2 separate regions of the Homo sapiens genome follow, and region 1 is linked to region 2. The links are contacts of gene promoters, found by promoter capture Hi-C in blood cells and fetal thymus (Javierre and others, 2016). All regions are on one chromosome and are shown on one strand. The core of a region is centred on a gene start or on the middle of the fragment in contact, and the rest is flanking DNA. Distances in the headings are between cores, read along the strand shown. Region 1 overlaps ENPEP (glutamyl aminopeptidase). Region 2 holds the start of EGF (epidermal growth factor).

Region 1 (4,986 bases), core at 943-3,442, 630 kb after region 2:
TTGTTGGTACCTTAAAATATTTGAAACTTCTCAACTATACTATGTTCCTATACCATTATTTAAATTGTATATTGTTCATGTAAACAAAAGAGTGTATGATGTATGAACTGAAAAATATAGGAGTAACGCTAACGAACATGGTTATATCAAAGCATAGCTATTATTTTAAGTACATATCTTTTACCTAAAACATAAGTCTCTGCTCCTTCAGCCTTGGGCTTCTAAAATCTATACAATAGAGCCTCACATATATATGGATGTTGTTTTAGAAAGAATGCTAATTTGATAAATCCATTGATGGAAAAGTATTGTTGTAACCAACTGAAATAGGAAGTAGACGGCTTTACAAAGATAAATAAATTGGAAGAACAAGTGTGAAGTCGATTACAAAATCAAGAACGTTTCATTCAGATCTCAATTCTATTGCAGGTCTTCTTGATACAGTAACATTTTAAAAGTGTTGCTGATTATCAATGTATTATCCTGCTTAGTGATAGCCATTTCCATCAACTTCAATGTTGATTTTAATAAACAAAGTATTATTTTGAGTATTTACATTTGTATCCCCTCCCCAGGCTGCCCTGGTGAATATTGTTTGTGTAATCAATCCATTATGATTAGGGATCTATGGACTACCCCTGAAGGCATGGACTTCTCTGTCTCGAGGCACTGTTTTCTTTTATTGATGGATTGACCAGCACGAAATTATTTCGCCCATTTGACAAGCTTCTGCCAGTAAAAACTATCCATCATAAATTACAGTATAATTATTTATATTACTTATTTCTTTTTTAGCTCACTCATTATAGTGGTATTCTAAAGTTAGACAACTAAGTAAAAATTAGGCTTTGGGTTTTGGATCCAAATCAAACCTGCCTCCTTGAGCTAATATTTCTTTTCTTTTATTTTCTTTTTGCCCTCTGGGTCTAATTTCTCTGTGTTGACAGTGCATGCAAACATGTTGCTCATTAGTGTTTATTTACTACTACAGGAATCACTTTGAACTCCTCTAATCCTAGTGGAAATGCTTTTCTCAAAATAAACCCAGATCATATTGGGTTTTATCGTGTAAATTATGAAGTAGCAACTTGGGACTCGATAGCTACAGCGCTCTCCTTGAACCACAAGGTAAGAGATAGCAATGGTTGGAAACTTTTATTTTTGTTCTAAGAACAGCATCTTAATGATATTAATTTTTTTCAACATGCTTTGCCTTAAGAATTGTGTTTTTATCTCTCTTTCTCCCTCTTCCCAGACATTTTCTTCAGCAGATCGTGCAAGTCTTATTGATGATGCTTTTGCCTTGGCAAGGTGCGTTTTAGAATGAGACTAAATTACTTAAAATACTGTGGGTTTTCTCATAAATCTTTTAAAAATGAATTAAACATTGCAGTATTAATCAATTTTAGCTTAAAATATCCAAAGCCACTATTTAAAACATTATTGTTTTCCTTAACTCTCTTTTCAAAAGTTCACATGAGCCTAATAGTCAAAATACTGACATTAGCCCTTAAGGTATACACAAAAACAAACCTAACTTATTGACTTTGAGTATGGTTTGTCTATATCAGGATCCTTGAGCTAATTAGAAGTGACATTTGCAAATGATCAAAAATGTACCTTCATAATTTGATTTAATATAAAGACAAACAATGTATTTTATTAATTCAGTTCTGTGAGCCCGAGCCCAGTGTAAGATTTTATGGCTAGAATTGTCAAATCTTGTTCAGGTCACTGGGGTAAGAAGAATGAGCTATGGTGCTTTAGAACTGATCAGAATTAGGGGACCATTTGGAAAATTTGACTCTTTTTCTCATAGTCTGAAGGTAACCTGCTCTTTAGAAAAAGTGTAGATTGGAAGAACTAAGTAGTATCCATGGTACCTCTATTTTTTTTTTAATTCACATAGTCTAACACCAGTAATTTAACAAGCATTTATTGAGTTCCTGGCACTTTGCAGAAGCTGAGGACACAGCCAATTTTATTTCTCTGGCTTTGTAGTCGCCTCATTCTAGATATGAGCAATGTGCTAAGAATGAGGAGCCACTTCCCTCAGTAGCCTCCCATGGCCTCTTTCTCTGGGTTGGGTATCCTTCTTATGGGACCCTATATTTCCTCATAATATTTTATTGTTATTGTTTATTAATTGTGCATTTCACCCATCAAACTGAAGGTTCATGAGGGTAGGCACCCAAACCCAGCTCCTGACTGTACGTTGCCAATAACAGTTGATAATAAATACTGACTAAATAGAGAGGTGGAAGAATAGTATAGTAGTACTAAAGGCATGGGGAAACTATTTTACACAGAGTTCCTAGATAGTATATTAAAAGTCAGAAAACCTTGACATATTTCAAGGAAGGAATTATGGGGTTCGAAAACAGGCTCTTGAACCCCATTAAAATCCTGGTTCCATATAGTCTTAAGTAAGTCTCTTAACTTCTCTCTGGCTCAATTTTCTTATCACCAAGGTAGAGATGACCTTATAAGACTTCTGTGAGGAATAAATGAGATAATGGACATAAAACACTTAAAAGATTATCTGGCATGTAGAAACTCAATACATTGTATTACATGACCAAAATGCATCCACCGTTAATTAGTAGTGAAGATGCGTTTAGAAGAGCTCTTCTGAATTTGTAATCTACACTCGTTTTGTAGCTAATAGAAAATATGATGTTCTAGTGAATCTCCAAGTTTAACCTCCTGGATATGTAATAGATTATTTTCACTATATTACAGTATACCACTCACTCATTTAATAAATAAACATTGGCGACTTACTATGTGCCAGGCACTGTGTAGAATAGAATCTGGGAAATTAAATGATGAAATAAGATGATCAATAAGTATTTTTAAACAGAATCATTTAGTTTTTATTTTTAAATTGTCCTGTTCCAAAGCTCAGCTTCTTCACTGTTAGAAATTACAAAGAACTGTACTATCTCTACAGTTTAATTTGCACCACAATGTAGGAGGTCCTTTCTATTCCAAGATGAAGTGAAAGAAAGCCTCTTGAACAGCTCTCTCTGAGGAACTGAGTATAAAGCAAATAACTTACACTACTGAAAGACTTGCTCACATTTGCTCAGCTCCTTGGCCACAGCCCCATAAAATTGTGAAGAGCTGTGGAGAGGAAGAAAATGAAACAAATTTGAAATTCAAAACATATGTAGGATCACACAAGAGAGCTAGAAAATACCTGTGCTATCACCTGGCTCAATGAGGTTCTGCAGCACATGAGGAAAATGGGACTCGGAGAGAAACAGATTCAACGAGCATTGGTTAGAGCCAAGAGGGCAGCTTCAAAGACCACATAAGCTAAGACCATTATGAAACTTTGGTGGAGGGGGTGGAAGAGAGAAGAAATGCGTAGTTAAATAGGTGAGCAACTGTGGCAGGATTAGAATTTAAACAAGTCTACTGAGGTATTCAAAGGAATGTAGTAACCATTATATTTAATAATCAGAACTAAATGATACATCTGAAAATAAATGAATTTTTTATTCCCCTGTCTCTTCCAACTTGATGTGAAGAGGTAGTACTCCTACTGCCCTGGCTGGGCATATGACTCTTTTCAAGGTAAGAAATTTACCCATCACCACTAGTTCATCCAAACCCTCTCAATTCCATAATTTTCTCAGTCAAGTAAAATCATCAAAGCTTTCTACTTCATTTAAAGCTTCTCCCTGCCCCCAGCTTAGGCCAGGTTCAGGCCAGTCACCTGCAATGGGAATGGGGTGATTGATTTCCTCTTCGTTTCTCTGCTTGGAACTTCTATGTCTCCCGAGTCACCGTGCTGCCTCTGGTTTCTCCAAAGTTAAGGCAAAGAGAACAGGGTGGGAGAGTAGGTGAGAGGGAGAAAAATCCTGATGTGCTGCCTACTTTTGGTCCTCTCTGAACTTTGTTGATGTTTAATGCTGATTTTTTTCCTTGTGTTGTGTTTTTATGGGATTTTTGTTACCCATATCCATTCCATTGAGAAGGATCTTTCTCCTGCAGTTTCCTTGAGGTGGGCAGGTGGACACTTCTGACCCACTTCTGGTCCATAGGAGGTTGTCATGTATGCTTTGTCCTGACAATATTTGGAAGAACAGGCCACCCCATGCAGTCCCATCTCTTCACTCTGAGGCCAGAGCAGCAGCCAAATAGCCTCTCATCTTTTAGATTTCTCAGGGTGTCAGACACCAAGCCACGGTGCCTCCAAGTTCCAGGAGACACAGGTAAACCTCTTCAAGTGGTCCCACTGAAACCTCTCTCCTGAGTCTTAATTAGACAGAAAAACATCTGGTGCCCTAGCCCTTGGAGGGGAGAGCATTTACAGTGTACTCAGTATACTGACAGCACTCTTTGAAAGGCCTCCACTAAAATGTCTCACCTTAGTTTCTCCAACCTCTTTTATAGGCTGGTGGTGGGCTATCAGCAAAGAGCCACACAGTCTTGTTCTTGACCATGTTAGTCCTGCTTTGGGGTCCTGCGTCTTTCTTTGGAGCATTGGAGCATAGGACTTAGTCTTGGGGCCTTGCCAAAACAGACACAGAAATAATTCTTCCCCCCACCCCGCCCCCTGCTTGCTACAATAGTTTTTGTTGTTTTTTGTTTTCTGTTTGCAATTACTTTATATTGTCCTCTTCAGCCCACTTCTTGCTACAGCCAGGAGAGGGTGGGTAATAACATAAGGGAAAGCAGAGTATGCTGGCTGACAAGGCTGCGTGGGGGCAGGAGTCACTAGGTAAGGGACGAATGGCAAAGAGAACAGCTGAAAGGACCACCTAAGCTAATGATCTAAGCAGAATTTCAGCCAGGTTTCAAGGACCACTGGCTCCAAGGATATGCAAGGTAATGGCCACGTTAGCAAATAAGAACCAGCAGGTGAACATCAGTCAAGCCAAAATCATGGACCTTAGATACAAACATTTTTGTAAGTGTTTGCAGAGATGACCAGAGAACAACACAGAACTCTATAAGCAACTTTTCCCATCCTCT
Region 2 (5,231 bases), core at 1,639-4,138:
GAGACATGCTGTAATTAAGGAAGTAATCTGTTGATGGTGTGGCGGTGGCAATGATTAGTAAGAGGTGCTGAGCACAGTAAATACATAACCCAGGAGAACTAGGTGCCCTGTGTTTCAATGAGGAAATTTCATCGGAAAAGTTAGAATTTTATGACAAGCACACATAAACATATGTCCCAATAGTCCCTTCCAGCTATTGCTGTCCACTCACACTTATAACCATTCAGAGCTATCTCCTTGCTATTAATGTCTAACTTTCTTACTGACCTACCAGCAGGGTTTCCCCCACCCAGCTGTGTCCCTTCAGGATCTAAGGAACTATTAAATAAGAAAAAAAATTTTTGTCCATTCCTGTTCCACATCCTGTCAGCATGACCCTTCTCCTTCTCTATGTCCTTCTGAGGCATCCTAATTACTCCACAGAGCTTCACACTGCATGCTGTAGTCCAAAGTACATTGCAGCTCCCCTCCTTCTTTCCTGACACCCAGTTTGTGACCAGTCATGTACTTGGTGGCTGGTCATTCATTAGCTCATACTCATACTCTCTGTTGTTGCTGTTAATCAACCTCAGCAAGCTCTTGATGTTAAGGACTACGACTTCTGTTTCTTGTACTCCAGGCAGTGCTCTATCATATATAGCTGTTTAATTAACGAATGAATTAGTTAACTTTAACTCAATTCCAGAAATTAAATCATATTTGGCAGCTCAAACCTATAAGTTATAGTGCATTTCTTATCAATTTTAAAATAAAGAGTTTATTTCAACCTTTCTTGAGTGCAAGAAAGGTTCAGTTTTATCCAGAAGTAGGAACATAAACTTATTATTTATTTATTTATTTATTTTTTTGAGATAGAGTCTTGCTCTGTCACCCAGGCTGGAGTGCAGTGGCGTGTTATCGGCTCACTGCAACCTCCGCCTCCTGGGTTCAAGCAATTCTCCTGCCTCAGCCTCATGAGTAGCTGGGACTATAGGCATGTGCCACCACGCCTGGCTAACTTTTTGTATTTTTAGTAGAGATGGGGTTTCACCGTGTTAGCCAGGATGGTCTAGATCTCCTGAAGTGTGATCTGCCCACCTTGGCCTCCCAAAGTGCTGGGATTACAGGCATGAGCCACCACGCCCGGCTGGAATATAAACTTATTAAATATCTCTGTAAATCCTTCCCAGTTGGGTAGCTCTGTCCTATGATTTTGCTATCTGGGCAACTGTAGATGATGAATTAGCTGCGATTGATTTTCATCATCAGTCATCAGCCATAGCATCTGCTATACCTCTGTTGACTCCGTCATCTCCTAGGGAGCTTGTACTCAACATTAATGACAACATTAGCCCAGGTGACATGTAATTAAGAAAGCAAACCTTTTTCCAACCAAAAATAATATGAGAGATTCCAAATCCAAACAGAACAGAGCTGTGGATCATTTCATGTTTGTCTTCATATCATTCTCTCCACTCCACTCCACTGACACAGCGTGATGCTTGATTGTCCTCTAAGCCCCTTCCATTGCTGTCATCTGGGATGCTGGCAATGTATTGTGCTGAAAGGGAAGCTTATTAATAAAGTTAGTAACTCGAAGAGTCAGTGCAGGTTATTTGTAGGATGCTCATTATGAGTCTTGAGTCTGACTCAGTCCAGAAAGCAATGGAATATTCCGCATAACCACCTAAAGGACTTCTCTTTCCCCCTTCCCCAGGGTCTGTTTCTCCTGTAAGGGTTCAGAGCTGCCTGGCAGAGGCTGGCTGAAATAGGAGAAATCCTGACTTAAGCTGTTTCAGGAAAGTGATCCAGTCTTTGGAGAATAATCAGGACATAATTAAGTATGAGTAAAAGGCTTAGAGTTAGTCTGTTCTCCTCTGTAATGGGGTGTTCACTAGTGTGACAGTTGTTTTTGTGACTATTGCTTTTACGTACATTTTTGACCAGCACTTGGAACACTACCTCAGGGTAACTTAAATGAAAGTCCATTTTCCAGGATGGAGTAAACTGACAGAAATTTCCATCGTGCATCAAATCTGCTATAAGTTGTTTGCCTTCTGGGTATTTTTGGGCCCTAGTTGTACTCCTGAAGAAATAACCACTGTTGCTCCAAGTAGAAAGTGGTTGAGGAGACAGCTAACAGATACGTCCAGTTCTTATTTTCTATCACAGAGATGTGAAAAAAAAAAAGCCTAAATTATCTTAGAAGGAAAAGCATTCCTCTGTGCTGGATTTCCAGTGCTTCCCAGCTTTGCACTGTTAGCTTATTTTTTCCAATGTCCCTATAATAACAATCCACTCCTTTCTCTGCACTCCTGGCCCCTCGTGATGTTTTATCATGCTCATGCTGAAAGAAAAGGTGTCTGTCCATACTGTATCTCTTCATTTGGCCTCAGGGATTTCCCTTTGATTTGGAAAGAATAATCTTTCAAATTCCGCTATAAACTATACAGGAGAAAGAGAAAAATAAGATAAAGCTCCTGGAATGTGCACTGGTATTGACATTTCGTTCAAATAATGGGCTGAAGGTGAACTATCTTTACTATTGCTCATGTGAATGATCAATTATTATCAATCCAAACTATCAACAGTGCTGCTTATTATTGATTTATACTGCATGGTTTAATTTTGTCTCCATCCTTCCAGACATTAAAACATAGCCAATATTTAGCAGTTCCCGCCATTCACCATGAGCACCTCCACAGCCCCCAACTCCTCTCTCCCAGTTCTGCCCAGGATATTTATGGTGAGTAGCGAGTTATCTCCTCTTTGGCAGTCATCCCTGCTTTCCTGTGTGGAGGAATTGCCCACATTCGCATTTGCAAACAGAGGCTCACTCAAGTGTCACTAAAGGAAAGGAGGTGGAGCCTGAAGAGCTTTAAAAAGCAAAGCTGAGTCATTCCACTTTTCAAAAAGAGAAACTGTTGGGAGAGGAATCGTATCTCCATATTTCTTCTTTCAGCCCCAATCCAAGGGTTGTAGCTGGAACTTTCCATCAGTTCTTCCTTTCTTTTTCCTCTCTAAGCCTTTGCCTTGCTCTGTCACAGTGAAGTCAGCCAGAGCAGGGCTGTTAAACTCTGTGAAATTTGTCATAAGGGTGTCAGGTATTTCTTACTGGCTTCCAAAGAAACATAGATAAAGAAATCTTTCCTGTGGCTTCCCTTGGCAGGCTGCATTCAGAAGGTCTCTCAGTTGAAGAAAGAGCTTGGAGGACAACAGCACAACAGGAGAGTAAAAGATGCCCCAGGGCTGAGGCCTCCGCTCAGGCAGCCGCATCTGGGGTCAATCATACTCACCTTGCCCGGGCCATGCTCCAGCAAAATCAAGCTGTTTTCTTTTGAAAGTTCAAACTCATCAAGATTATGCTGCTCACTCTTATCATTCTGTTGCCAGTAGTTTCAAAATTTAGTTTTGTTAGTCTCTCAGCACCGCAGCACTGGAGCTGTCCTGAAGGTACTCTCGCAGGAAATGGGAATTCTACTTGTGTGGGTAAGTACTCCAATGAAAAGGTGCTCCAGGTCTCCGGGAAACTGCCCCCACATCCCTGTTGGTTCAATCTGGTATACTTGGGCATTTAACAAAGTTTGTCTTTGGGTATGTATAGTTGCTTAATTTTTGTTTTCTGATGCATGTTTATTTTCTTACTGGCCATTAGAGCTAATCTGCTACCAACTATAAAACTTCATAACTCTCAAACTGTACTTCTGTGTATAAGTGAATGAATATGCCTCATTTTAAACTAGCAGAACATTTCATGGAAGCTTCAGCTTTTACTCTGACAAGAGGAGTAATTAACACCTGGCTAATTGCTTGGAAATTAGGGAAACAGATGGTTGATTTTTTGTTTGTCTGTTTGAAACTCTTAAGCCACAAAGAAAAAAATCCTTCCTTCTGATAACTTGTAAGAATTCAGAAGTTCTAAAAATTAGTGAAAAATGGAAAGGGAACTGTGAACAAAGGTAGTTGTGAAAATTAACCTAAATTTCAATTTCAACCTCCTTCACTTTCTCCCCACTCTTACTGTTTCTGAGGCTCTGACACAACTCCGGAGTTTTAGTAACAGGTGCATTGCAACTTTAAGAACTGCCAAATATGATAATGGGTAAATAAGCCACACTGTCCTCTCATATTAAATGAATTTTTTGCCAAGGGGAAATGGGAGCTTGACTGAATGCGAATTACAATCCTGCCAAAGGATATTGCCTGAAAAACATTCTCTCTCTAACTGTTAATTCATTTATTTAATCCTTGGGTGAGCCTCCAACCTGCTGCTTAGACACGGCAGCCGCCTTTGTTGATGAGAGGTTATAGCTGCCCCGACATTCCATTTTTATCAGCTTGCCCTTTTGAGATGGCGTCTGGCTTTTAAAAAGAGGTAGATTGAGGGGGAAAACACAGTACAGTTTCCAGAAGAGACACCTATGGAAGACAGTACACAATAGGCAATAGTTTGAATAAAGAGAGCAGAATGGAGCCAAACTGCCAAAGCTAGGCTGCTGTCCTGGCTCTCCCATTAAGGAAGTTCCCGATGAGGAAATCAGGTGCTTTTGCTCAGAATCTCTGGACTCTGTTCTCAGGTAGCACTCCTTGTAACAGGTGAGCAGAACTCTAGGGTATTTGAAATAAAGACTTAATCCTAGTGATCTCTATGTTCCCAGCACCTAGGACATTCCTGCTTCCACAGTGTGTACTCAGCAAATTCTTGTGTATGAATGAGGCGTCTTTCTCTGATCTGCTAATGACATAGTCCTAGAGAACAGCAACAAAAAGAGGGTGACAAATGACAAAAATGGCCCCATGAACCTCAGACTCAGCTGTTGGAGACAGAAGTAAAACTTCTGTATACAGTTATGTCAAATGGACTGGACTCTCTTTGGGGTGGGAGAATTTTCCGTGGAGTAGTTGGCAAATATCTAGAGTTGGGCACTGTCATTTGCATGGGATGTGAGGGGTGATGGTTGGGCCGATCTATCAGGCAGCCAGAAGCTAGGAAAGAAGAACCCAGGTTGCTGAAGCAGAACCCAAGAAATTACAAAAATGAGCTTTTATGGATGGCTCTAGGATCTCAGAATAGTCTGATTCCTGCTGGCAAGCAAGTCTATGCCTTGTTTTCCTTGCCACCTCTGGTGGCTCAGAAGTGCCTTCATTGAGGTAGGTTGTACCCAATAAACATGAAACCCAGGATAGAAACAATAAGTTGGGGAGACTGTGTCACAGAGTGGAAGGAACCACAGGTTTTAGAAACAAACAAG

The links. The method cuts DNA at HindIII sites, captures the fragments that hold promoters and counts their contacts. A CHiCAGO score of 5 or more calls a contact.
Region 1: a contact is called between a fragment that was not itself captured here and the fragment with the promoter of EGF in region 2, in 1 of 17 cell types (total CD4 T cells). The highest score is 5.1, in total CD4 T cells.

What each region holds. Positions count from the first base shown.
Region 1 is chr4:110,541,760-110,546,745 of GRCh38, forward strand. ENPEP (glutamyl aminopeptidase) reads left to right here. Exons shown (of 20, transcript NM_001977.4): 12 at 992-1,128; 13 at 1,256-1,311. Among named protein-coding and RNA genes, the nearest start is that of ENPEP, 68 kb to the left of the region's middle. The HindIII fragment of the contact is 2,937 bases long and covers 725-3,661 here.
Region 2 is chr4:109,909,995-109,915,225 of GRCh38, forward strand. It overlaps EGF (epidermal growth factor), which reads left to right and starts at 2,889. Exons shown (of 24, transcript NM_001963.6): 1 at 2,889-3,468. The coding sequence starts at 3,342. The HindIII fragment of the contact is 2,188 bases long and covers 1,551-3,738 here.